Regions from separate parts of the Homo sapiens genome. Here region 2 is linked to region 1. The links are contacts of gene promoters, found by promoter capture Hi-C in blood cells and fetal thymus (Javierre and others, 2016). All regions are on one chromosome and are shown on one strand. Each heading gives the region's core, a stretch centred on a gene start or on the middle of the fragment in contact. The rest is flanking DNA. Distances are from core to core; before and after follow the strand shown. Region 1 holds the start of BIRC2 (baculoviral IAP repeat containing 2). Region 2 overlaps SYTL2 (synaptotagmin like 2).

Evidence for each region. The method cuts DNA at HindIII sites, captures the fragments that hold promoters and counts their contacts. A CHiCAGO score of 5 or more calls a contact.
Region 2: a fragment that was not itself captured here is called in contact with the fragment with the promoter of BIRC2 in region 1 in 1 of 17 cell types (non-activated CD4 T cells); the score reaches 8.7 in non-activated CD4 T cells.

The regions. Positions count from the first base shown.
Region 1 is chr11:102,343,755-102,349,732 of GRCh38, reverse strand. BIRC2 (baculoviral IAP repeat containing 2) reads right to left here and starts at 2,519. Exons shown (of 9, transcript NM_001166.5): 1 at 2,357-2,519; 2 at 1-1,135. RefSeq lists an enhancer at 1,898-1,967. The HindIII fragment of the contact is 3,484 bases long and covers 543-4,026 here.
Region 2 is chr11:85,746,864-85,752,588 of GRCh38, reverse strand. It overlaps SYTL2 (synaptotagmin like 2), which reads left to right. Exons shown (of 20, transcript NM_206927.4): 3 at 4,166-4,317. Among named protein-coding and RNA genes, the nearest start is that of SYTL2, 61 kb to the left of the region's middle. The HindIII fragment of the contact is 219 bases long and covers 2,158-2,376 here.

The sequences.
Region 1 (5,978 bases), core at 1,270-3,769:
TTTACTGGATTTATCTCAGTTTATATTCAGGTAGGATGAGTATCTCTCTGAATTACCAAGATACTACTTAGAACACAACTCTTTGGGGTTGTAGTAACTCTTTCAGGTAACCTAAGTGCTATTTGTTCATAATCTTGAGTAATACTAACTTAAAGCCCTGAAAGGTGGATGCACTTCTGAAAATATTAAAACTCCTTGATTTTTCACAGAGATTTATATTAACAAAATTCTAAGCAACTATAGAATACCTAAATTATGCCTTTTATTTATATTTGGTTACAAGCTATGAAGCCTGAATAACAGACCAATTACTGATTATGCCACAAGGTAAAAAATTATATGCAGGCTTCTTTCCCTATAAGCACTTTAACATGACAACCCAAAAAATCTCATTTTATTCCAATAAACAAAAGTAATTAAAACCTTCATATGGTCACACTATTTAAAAGCTAAGTTCACACAGCTTATCATCATAGTATTTACTTAAGTGGGCTAAATTACTTCAGCTGACAACTTTTGGGGGAAGTCAATACCCACAAGCTTTGTTGAACCTGTGCCTGCTATAGTGCTTGATGTCAAATGAATTTGGCTTAAAGTTCAAAAACTGTAAACTCTATCTTTGTTAAATATCATTTGTATTTGTTTCCATTTCCTGCAGCATCATGTTGACTTTCTTCCTAACTTTGTATACCACTATTATTCTTGATCAACTGAAGGTATTTTCTCCATAAACTTAGTTAGCCATAAAATTTCCACAGCACACTTTTTACACTGCATTTAAAAACTAAATAACCTGTTCATCATTTAAGGACTATTCAGCTATAATTATCAGTCATGTTGTAAACATTAATCAATTTATCACAAGATAAAACTTGTCCTTTCTAGTGTTATCAGAAACGCCTAACAAAATATTGTACTACCAAAAAAGTACTGCTTAGCATAAAGTATCAGTAATCAACTCTACTAGCCTTCTTTCTGAAAACTCTTCAATGTTTTAAAAATATAATTCATACACAAAATTACACTCCATAGAATTCAAACTATATCCCTTTATAAAGTTTCGAGATCTCCATAATGGGATTTATTACTGCAGGGGGACAAAATAGGGATAGGGAGATTCTTCAGGGTTGTAAATCTGAAAAGAAAAAACAAAAAGTATTTTAGAAAACTGTATGTGCATGCCAAATAGAACTTACATACTCTTCAATTTATTCAGTAAAGTCTAAGAATAATTCACACTTTAGATAATACATCTTAATTCCAGCAATTTGTCACAACTTTCTAAATGAAAAAGCTATTAATTAAAATAAGTAAATGCAACATACTCCCCATAGCACTAACTATACGTGTCTTTAAAACGCACAACTTCAGAGACAGATGGAAATTTTCACACAGGAAACATTTTGTCCTTGCTCTCCTCCCCTTTTCTGGCCTAAAGGTAACTCTGGCACTCTGCTGGAGGCAAAGGCACATTGGTTAAAAAGACAGACAGACACTCCACTACACCCTGTCAGCAGCAGTACAGCAGGAATTAAGACAGCAACGTTAGTTTGTAATATCAAGTCTCTCCACGACTAGGAAAACTGCAGTAAAATGCACCACGAGTTCATTAATATAAACTCTTAAACTCTGCCATTCCCTTACAATTTCAAAGCAACGACCACAGAAAGCAACTCGAAAACAAAACCTAACACAGTGGCCTGTGAAACAGTGGCTCCGGCACTACGACCACTGGCATGATTGCTTTAATTACACCCGGTCTTATATCCTATCTTTAAATGAAAGATTTTTATCTACGTGCACCGCACTGCTGCATTCTCTTTACGCAAATTGCAGCTGGGCAGGGGATAGGATGGAAGGGAAAAGAATAGAAACTATGGGATTTACCCAATAATTTCCCAGAGTTGCTTCTCACAATACACAACAGACGACTACTGGAATGACAGAGCGCAGTGGCAACTATGAAATATGAAATATCGCCGCCACCGAAATATCTTCGTTTCAATGTATTACATTAAAAGAACGCCGAGGGCTAAGTTTAAAACCTTGCAAAAACTGCGAGAAAACATCTTGGTCAAAGTCCAAGGGCCAGAAGAGTGGGCGGCGGCCAGAGGCTTGAAAACAAGTCATTTTAAAAATCGCTTTGACTGCAAGTCTCGAAGTTGGGGCTTCCGAATCCAATAAAACCTTGGCGAGAGTAGAAAGCAGAGAGCCCCCGGCGACCCTCGACCCTTGGCCGAAGGGCCTCAGGCCCCGTCCTTCCTCGTTCGCCGCCACATCAGGGAAGTGGGCCCCCGCGGGCCCTCGCGTCCCCACCCGCCCCACGCCGCCCGAGCCCGGAAGGAGCAGCACTCACCGCAGTGCGGGCGCAGCAAACACGGAAGCTGCGCGGCTGCCTAGAGGCCTCCGCAGAGCCGGGAATCAGCGGCGCCGACAAGGAGATACGGCCCGCTCGGCTCGGATCAGCCCGGGCGCTCCCGAAGCCCGCCGCCCCATCCGGGCTCACTCTGACGCACGATGACGTCAGCGCGCCCGGCCGAGGACCAGCGTTAGCCGCCGCGCGAGGGCGCCCGGGAGGCTGGGGCCGGAAAGCGGAACCGAGAGCGCTTTCCGCCGTGCGGCGATGAACCTCCGGGAAAGACGCTGGGAGGCCAGGATGCCCGGCGCAACTGGACGCTCATCGGGAGTCACGGGGTCGGCCCTCAGGGGAACGGGGACTATCCGTATCAACTCGGTGTTTGTTCGTTTTCTTCACCTTGCGGTTTGTGCCCTCTCCACATTTCCTCTCTGTGTCTACCATTCTCCTGGGGGACGTGGCAAACCGTGAGCCGCTGCGTTTGAGTTTTGGGAAACCCTGCGGAAACGCCCTGGCGCCGGTGGTTTTGCGCGTCCTACCCTGTGTCACCTCAGGGTTATGATCTGGCCCCTGGCAAGGCTCCCCAAGTGTGATGCCTCCCCCCGTCCAGATGACTGCATTTTGAGGATGGAGTCAGTCTGGTGGCATTTTTTGCTTAAGTAAACAATTGTAACCGTTTGTGTAGCATCAGCGTTCAACAGCTGCCTGTGCAAATCGAAAAAAGCGAAACTTTGGAAACTAGGAAGCATCAGATGAATAATTCTGAAGACTTGATGTCAACGGGAGTATCTTGTTTTTAAACTTTTGGTTTTCTGTTCTGGAGACAAACAGTTCATATGCACTAAAGAAAAAAGTGTCATTATTTCAGATGCTCATTGCCAGCAAAGAGAACTGTATTGCAAGTCAGGCTTCACTCCCAGTATTTTCTGAATGTTTCAATAAAATGAAATATATACGTCTGCCTGTGTATTGGTGTACATGCACATATAATTGTACATAAACCAGAGAGGAGCCCAATTTTTTTTAATGCTTAGGTAATAGAAAATTTGTAAATAAAAACCCTTGGCTTTTGCTAGTCATGGACCTTTTGTATCCCCCCGCCATACTCCCCCAATAGTGCCATAGACACAGTGTCGTGCAGTAAATGTTTGTGGTATGACAACCAACGAACGACTTTTGAAGTTGACGCTCTTTGCCCGTTGAATCCGATGCTTGCTTCTCTCTGGGGAACTCCAAGGGGCAAATATTTAAAAAACTTCCAAATAGCAAGCCACTTAATTAGGGAGCCGGGGGAATTCCAAGACCCTGAACCATTTCCCATTTCCTGTCTGTGTCATTTCTGCCTGCCAGTCAGTCACAGAACAGGAGGTCTACTGTTCCAATGTTAATAGTCAAAGAAAGTGAGTGTAACAGTTTGTAATACAGAGAAAAGAAATGCCATGGCTCCCAATGACTAAAAACTTCCAAAAATGCACCTGGGGCTTGGTAGTAGTTTAGTATTTAGTTCAAGTCACTATTTCTCGGAAGGTTTACAGAACATTCCTAACACATGTGGGAAAATATATATAGCAAGAATTGTTCATTCTGAACTCAAGATTATTTCTCTTTTTCAGTTCTTGTCCTGACCAAAGCAGTAAGATAATGAATATACTTAAGTATAGGGGAAAGCTTGCATTTCAAAAACTCAAAAGCCTTAGATATTTTTAACAAAAAATATTTGTAATATTTACATATAATAAATAGTACCTCATAACTTTTAATCTTGTATAACTTTGTAGTCTAGTGTTACAGCTAGTTAATTCAGTTACCTGTTTATTCAGTTAATTTTTTTTCATTTTGCTAGTATAAAGTTGCTGTTAATCTTAAAAAAATAAGCTATGTATGTCTGCTGCAGTTGCCCTTCTAACGTTTTTCACATTTATGTAGAAAAAAAATTTACAGTATTTAAAACAATTTTGAAGAAGAAAAGTAAGATTGGAAGGTCTTGTCCTACCAGGTAATGAGTTACAATAAAGCCATAGTAATTGAGACAGTCTTGTATTATTAAACGCCCTAAGATGGACAATTAAAGGAAGGAGATACAGAGCCCCAAGAAGAGACCCATATCTATGTATTTGGGAATTTGATATACTGGCATTATGTATTAATGAGAAAATGATTAATTACTCAATAAGTAATGCTGAATGAATGGTTATTCTAATGGAAAATAAAATTAGATCACTACCATATACTATTTAAAAATCTCTGCCGGATTTTTTTTAAAAACCCTCAAAAGTAAACAGCCATCATTATGAATCCAGGGATTTAAAGAAGTTTGGTGAGTTGTAATCCACTGTAGCTATTACCACTATTAGTGCTCAAGTTGTTTATTTTAGGCCGGTGAGAGTTTACTCAGGTTGGCTCCTGAGTCTTTCTGATACTTTCCTAGTAGTCTTTGCTTTCCAGGCTCATTTTGTGTATTTCTTACTCCATACCCATAATAAGCCATTACTCCTAAGTGCCCTGGATCCTTTAGTGGGAAATGATATTTAAAGAGCATAATCTGGATGTCTCCTTTAAGCTGGCGCTGCAAGGAACAACAAAGAAACAAACAAAAAATGTTTGTCGTGTTGTTAATGAGTTTGATTGTTTCTATACCTGTTCAATGGACAGAGCTGGTTAGTATGGGTTTGTTTTGATTTGGTTTTTGTCTTTTAAATCAAATATATTATGAACTCATTGATACTTCCGATTCAAATTCAGGAAGTCAAGGTTTTATTTAACCTCTTTGATTACACATCTGTAACTCCCTTTATTTTGAAAATCCTTGGTCTCCCCTCTACTTTTTCCTTCCTGCCCTATAAGTAATGACTTAAACACTTTTTATGATTCATTTTTTCATTTTAAAAATGTAATTATGCATGTTTATACCTACCCTTTTCTTAGATAAACAGTAGTAGCACATTTTCTCCACCTTTTTTCACTTTATAATAAATTCTAGAGATTGTATAATACTAACATATAGAGCTATTCCTCATTTCTATATAGTACTCCATTGTGTAGATGTGCCATAATATATTCAACTTGAACAATGTAATTCAGAAAGCAGCCAAAAACTGTTAGGGCCGTGTCAAAGACTAAGGAGCCAGCCTGAATAAGCTCCCCAGCCATAGATAAAATTAGTACCATAATATATTCAGCTACTTCCCTATGGATGGACATCTGGGTGGTTTCCAGCCTTTTGCTATTACAAATAGTGCTGTAATGAATAATCATGGGAACACATCTTATTTTAGGATATATTCCCAGAAGTTAGTTCAAATGGTAAATCCATACATAAATTTGCCTAATATGGCCACATACCCATCCATGAGTATGTTGGCATTTTGCAATCCAATCAGCAATGTATGTGAGTGCCTGTTTTTCCCACAGCTTCATCCGTGGAGTAAGTTGTCAGACATTTGGATTGTTGCCAACCTGTTAAATAATAAATAGTATTTCAGTTCAGTTACCATTTTTTATTGCTATATTATGAATGGGATTGAAAAACTTTTCCTATGCATCAATTGTATATGTAATGTTTTATTTATTTTTTAAGTTAGGTGAGTATAAAAGAATGTTAGGATTGGTTGTGAGGTATTGT
Region 2 (5,725 bases), core at 1,018-3,517, about 17 Mb after region 1:
TAAGGAAGGTTTGTAGTTTGTTTTCCACATGTTGGTTTTCAGATTCTTCATCAAAGATTGAGTTCCTTAGGAGAAAGAGTGAAGTGTGACAGCCATCTTAGAAACCGAAATCATGTTTGGCTCTCTGAGGCAGGATCGGGTAGTAGAAAGTGTGTTGGCTGGGAGTCAGACTGGCTTCTGCTGCCAGCTCTGTGTGACCTTGGGCAAGCCTCTTAACTTCTCTGGGCTTCTATCATTTTATCTAGAAAGTGAGGTCATTTGTAACTATCTAAGGTACCTTTCAGCTCTCACATTCAAAACAAACATCTGAGAGCACCTCCAAATCACACAGTCTAAACATCTTGCCCAGTATATTCTGGGCAAGATGAAAAAAGAAAGGCTGGAGAATAGACCAGTCAACCTATCTGGCCAGCAGCTGTCCACAGTTGACTAAATACTATGAACCAGGTCCTGCAGGTGATGTTCGAGCTTTGCCTAGTCCTGTTGAGTAGCTGGAAGCTGAGGTGTACATAAGTGAGCACAAGGAGAAAAGGGGTAGGCTGAGGGCAAATGTGTTGAATCCAGCCCAGAGGGCATTTCTGCTCTTCTGGCTTTCCTCTGTAAGTGCTCACACTCTTGGCATGAAAAGGAGTTGACATTGACAGTTAGGGCTGTAGATAGAATTTTTAATGTCCAATTTGAAGCAGATGGCTGGTATGGGAATTAATGAGTCAGTGAACAAATAGCCAGACAGGGTTTAGATATGGCTTTTAGCATACAGAAGAGGTAAAATGGCCATCTTTTGAAATGGATGAAATTCTTTGAACAGCATGGTGAAATTGTAAGGATGAAATGATAAGAGGCTTGTTAAGTGTCAGATGTGTGGTTCAGCACAAAGCAGATACTGTGTGCTAGCTGAAGGAATGGGAGAATGAACGAGAGAATGACCAGGACATCCCACCTGGGAGGCCAGCAGGCCAGTGTACTTTCTGGATTGAGTGCTCTTCTTCAGCCCTCACTTCTGCCCACCAGCCCACCGGTGTTTACTGAGCGTCTTCTCTCTACTTAACTCTCTGCTAAACATAACGTGTGTGTGTGGAGAGGATGGTAAAGGATAAATGTCAGTCCCAAGAAACTTACCCCTTTCTCTCTTCATCTAGATGGTACGATAATTAGAGAATCAAATGCTCATTTTGTTGATGTAATTAGAGTTCAGAAAAAAATGAGAGATGAACGTGGGCTGGAAAACGAGAAGATTTTAACAGCAGCACTAGATAGTGGGATTCTAAAAATGATCTACATCTTTACAAAACTTTGATGTTATACATATGGATTTATCTACGAAATAGTACAAGTGACTAAGATAGAAAAAGAAGTTGATTATTAAACCTAGTAGTGATAGTCATGTAAGGAAATATGTAAGTGGCACTTAACTACATTTGAAAGAATTTCCTGTTCTTTTGCCACTTTAAAACAAGTGAGCCAGAAACCCTTTCCTTACTATAATGGCTATCAGCCTTTGTAGGGACCATGTGTTTCAGGGAGTCGATGCAAAACCTGTGCTCATTGTGCATTGATCGTGGGCTTACAGACAGTCATTTAGGCAGGAACAGATCAAGGGTTGCACAAGAATCCCCACAAAGTGCATTTTAGTTGAAAAACAAAAATAAACAATCTTATGAAAAGAAATTGGGTGTTGTTCTGCTATAAGGGTTTGTGGCCTCCTTCAACAAGAATGCTGACCGACACCACATTTCATGATGTTTTTTCCTGTTCTGATGAGAGATGAGCATGTCCTGCTGCATCAGGAGGAGACACCATTCATTGTGATGGGGTCTGAGGTTCACTTAATCACAGCAGTGACAGGATCTTCTTGATCTCTTGCCTGACTCAGGATGGCTGCTGAGCGTTTATTTGTTCTTTGATTTATTCACTCAACAGACAGTTATTGGGTATCAGCTCTGTTCCAGGCTCCGTGCTAGGTGCTGGCATTACAAAGGTGGTTAAGACATAGTCCTCACTTTCAAGGAGTTTGCAAAGACCACAGGTTAGTGAGTACAACAGATGTGCAAACAGATCACTGGAATATGATATAGTAAGGACTGAAGTGGAGGTGCTGTGGGAGCAATGGAAAAGGAGAAACTGTAATAACTGTGCCCTCCTGAGTTAGGGAAAGCTTCCCAGTGAGGCAGTGTTTGAGCTGGATTTGAAGGATGAGGAGCAACGGGCTGGACAGAGAAGTGAGGGAAAGACATCCCATGAGACTTCACATTAACTGGCCTTGTACCAAGATCTAGGCAGTACTAAGTACTTTCAGTTAAACATCTCAATCATCTCAGAAGTCCTGGAGGGTAGGTCTTATTTTCCCTGATCCTTAAAAACAAGGAGACTAAAGCTTAGAGGAGTTTGGTAAACTGTCCAAGATCCCATCTAGGAAGGGTCAGAACTGAGATTTGGATGTAATTTGGGGAGCCTTGAAAACCCAGAGTCTTTCTGCCACAACTTCCTGCCTCTGTCATCTACAGAGGTCACAGAAGAGCACTGGAGAATTGTAAGAAGCTGAGCCTGCTGGCAAGTGGGGTATGGGCGTGAGTGCTGGAAAAATGAATCTGAAAAGGTAACCTGAAGCCTTTTTAGGTGGTCAGGAGCCTCATCTGATATTCCTCCACTCTGCAAGATCTGAATAAATACCCCGTATTTTCCAGACACTAAACAAAGATGTATTGAGTACAGACCCTGCCCCCAGGAACTCACCAGGGAGAAGTAGAAGAACTTCTCCATTCTGGAATTGAACTCAAACTTGGTCCTTTTGGGAGGAGAAGGCAAAGGTTCACCAACAGTCCAGCAGTTGTTTGCTCTGCTGAAAACAGTGTTGAAAGCAGTGTCAAACCATTAGGAACATTTAATAAAAACCATGATATCGTTGCTGACTGAGAACTATGAAGCAATGATGCTCTCCCTGTTAGGGTTTATAGATGGGGCTGTCATGACAAAGAGAGGAAGTTCCTGTAAGAGTTTACTCTGGGTGGAAGGACACTCTCCAGGCACGCTTGGGAGAGAGGAGACATTCTTGCTAGACCTGGGATAACTGCTCCCCCTCTTTTTCCCACTCCCAGGTATGCCTGTGTGCAACCCTTACATGCAGCGCTGCTACCACCTTGGCCCATTCACATTCTCTGCCTGAAGCACTTTGATTTGCTAATTGAGGAAGAGTGCATATTAGTTTGTATGACTATCTTAAAACCCTCTTGGATTTATGTTAGCACATTATCTTCCAAGAGTATAGTGTTCCCTTACAGCTTTTATTCCACTTTATTCTAAGTACATCTCTATAAACAAGAGAGATTTTGTGATTTTTTTATTTTACTGAGATGGATAGAGAGATGGAGAGGTTAAGACTTGTCAGTTAGAACAAAGTTTTTAGGGAAGTTTTAGGAGGGCAGACTATCTTGTTTGTTCTTTAGGTTTTAGCTTTTCAGTAAGCATGAATAATTGTGAAACTCTTAAATGCAGGATCTGCACAAATGGAACTTGCCTGTACACACTCCTCCTCAATTTTGGTCTTCCCTGATTCCAGCAGCCTTTTAAAGATGCCTTTCCCTAACAATAAGCATCAGAGACATCACTCCTCCTCCACAGGCTTCCAGGAAAGTCTCTAATAAACTCATATCACCCAAAATGGAAAGGACTGATGAGCTAATGACTACCCCATCCAGTGTTTATTAGGTGCCAGGGAGGTGCAGAGAGCTATTGAATGAATTCACTCGGTTAAACCTCAAAGAAACCCCAATTTTAAAGTCCAAAGGTTACTATTACTAATGCTTTTTTACGGATAAGGAAACCAAGGCTTAGGGAAGCCTACCGTATTATCCCTCCCTGGGGTATTTGCATTTGAACAGCAGACACTGAAGAATGCAGCCAAAAAGTGAATCTGCTCTTGAGAAATTTCAGGCATCATACGGGAATCGTGGATTAAACCTTTATTTGAAAAAATGTTGGCCTTGTCTTCTCTGACTTTTCAAAGGTGAACATACACTTGTTAGTCATCTGGGAAGTTTCTGGGATCATCTGAAATATTAAAGCTTCATTTTATCTGTGTGTTTACACATGTCTTTATGCGGTGTCATAATGAACTCATTTATTTACTGTGGGTTCTCAGCAAACTAAAGATCTTTTCCTTTTGTAGACATTTGCCTGAAAAAATTAAGGATGACCAGCAGCTGAAGAATATGAGTGGCCAATGGTTTTATGAAGCCAAGGCAAAAAGGCACAGGGACAAAATCCATGGCGCAGATATCATCAGAGCATCTATGAGAAAGAAGAGGCCCCAGATAGCAGGTGAGTTGACTTGGCTAGTGCATTTACAACAAGCATTCGTTTGGGAAGGAGGAGCGGGGAGAAGGGAATGGTGTCAGAAATCTGCTGATGGAAATCATTTGGATGTACACTTTTCATAATGTGTGGCCCTCTAGTTTAAATTTCCCTTGCCTTGGATTTGGATGGATGAGGGCAGAGCTAAGTGACTCAGTGTGGTGTAGAGGAACATAGGAAGCCCTTTAGGTGCCCTGTTGAATTATAGTAGCATAGATAGTTGGGGCCTGTAAAGGATCTACCACCTCTTCTTTGGCTTTTAACTCTGAAGATTCAGAATCTTCTGAGTAAAATGAAGGGCTTAGACAAAAAGATATCAGCCTCTCTTTTCAGTGATCTTAACATATGGTAGTACTTTCTTAATTAACCAAGTACATTATTTAAGAGACCGTAAAGACATTTTTTTAATGGAAAAACCTTCTTGTTTATTTGATTAAACAAAAATAAATTAAGCTGTATAGGAACAAGTTTAAAGTCCAGACAGACATCAACTTTGTTTTGAGGCTGTAGTAGCTGACACAGCATCTCCTTGCTACCTACTCCAGCCCTCTCTGTGGACCACAGTGATATATTCAAGAGCCTGTTAGCTAACACAGGAGTTTTAAAACACTTTTCCATTGGTTCTTCACCTGCTTATTGCCTGTCATGCCTGTGGCCTACAATAGTAACATTTAAAAGTGAAAGTCAAAAGAGGGGGGAAATAAAAATGCCAACCAACCAAAAACCCACTTCTGCCTAAAGGTTTGGGGGGAAATCTTTACTTATCCACCCATCTACTGAATTGATGGGATTTATACTATCATGACAATGCCCATTTAAAAGTGGCAAAGGCAGCCAGCATCCCACCCCAGATGGGCTTGTAGCATGGTTTCTGTGGCCAGGGAGGTTACTATGATAGTGCGTATTCCTTATATCATGGCATTATTTTTATGTCTTTTTTTTTTTTAATAGACATAGAGTCTTACTATTTTGGCCAGGCTGGTCTCGAACTACTGGCCTCAAGCAATCTTCCTGCCTCACCCTCCCAAAGTGCTGCGATTATAGACATAAGCCACCATGCCTGGCAAAGGCAATCTTTTGAGGGCTTGTTTAAAATTCTATCAAGTTCATTAAATACTTACTGGTTGCCTTCTCTCTAATTAACTCTGGCTTAGTCCATGTAAAGCCTTGTCAAGGTCTACCCTGTACTCAATAAGGAAAATAGCCATCATCTTTTGAGCATGTGATATAGGATAGGCATTTAATTTCTATTATTTCTAATTGTTGCAGTAATCCTGTGAGGTAGGCATTATTTCCCCCATTCTATACATGGGGCATATGAAGCTCAGAGAAGTTAAGTAACTTGCCCGAGATTATGTAATTGGCAAATGGCAGA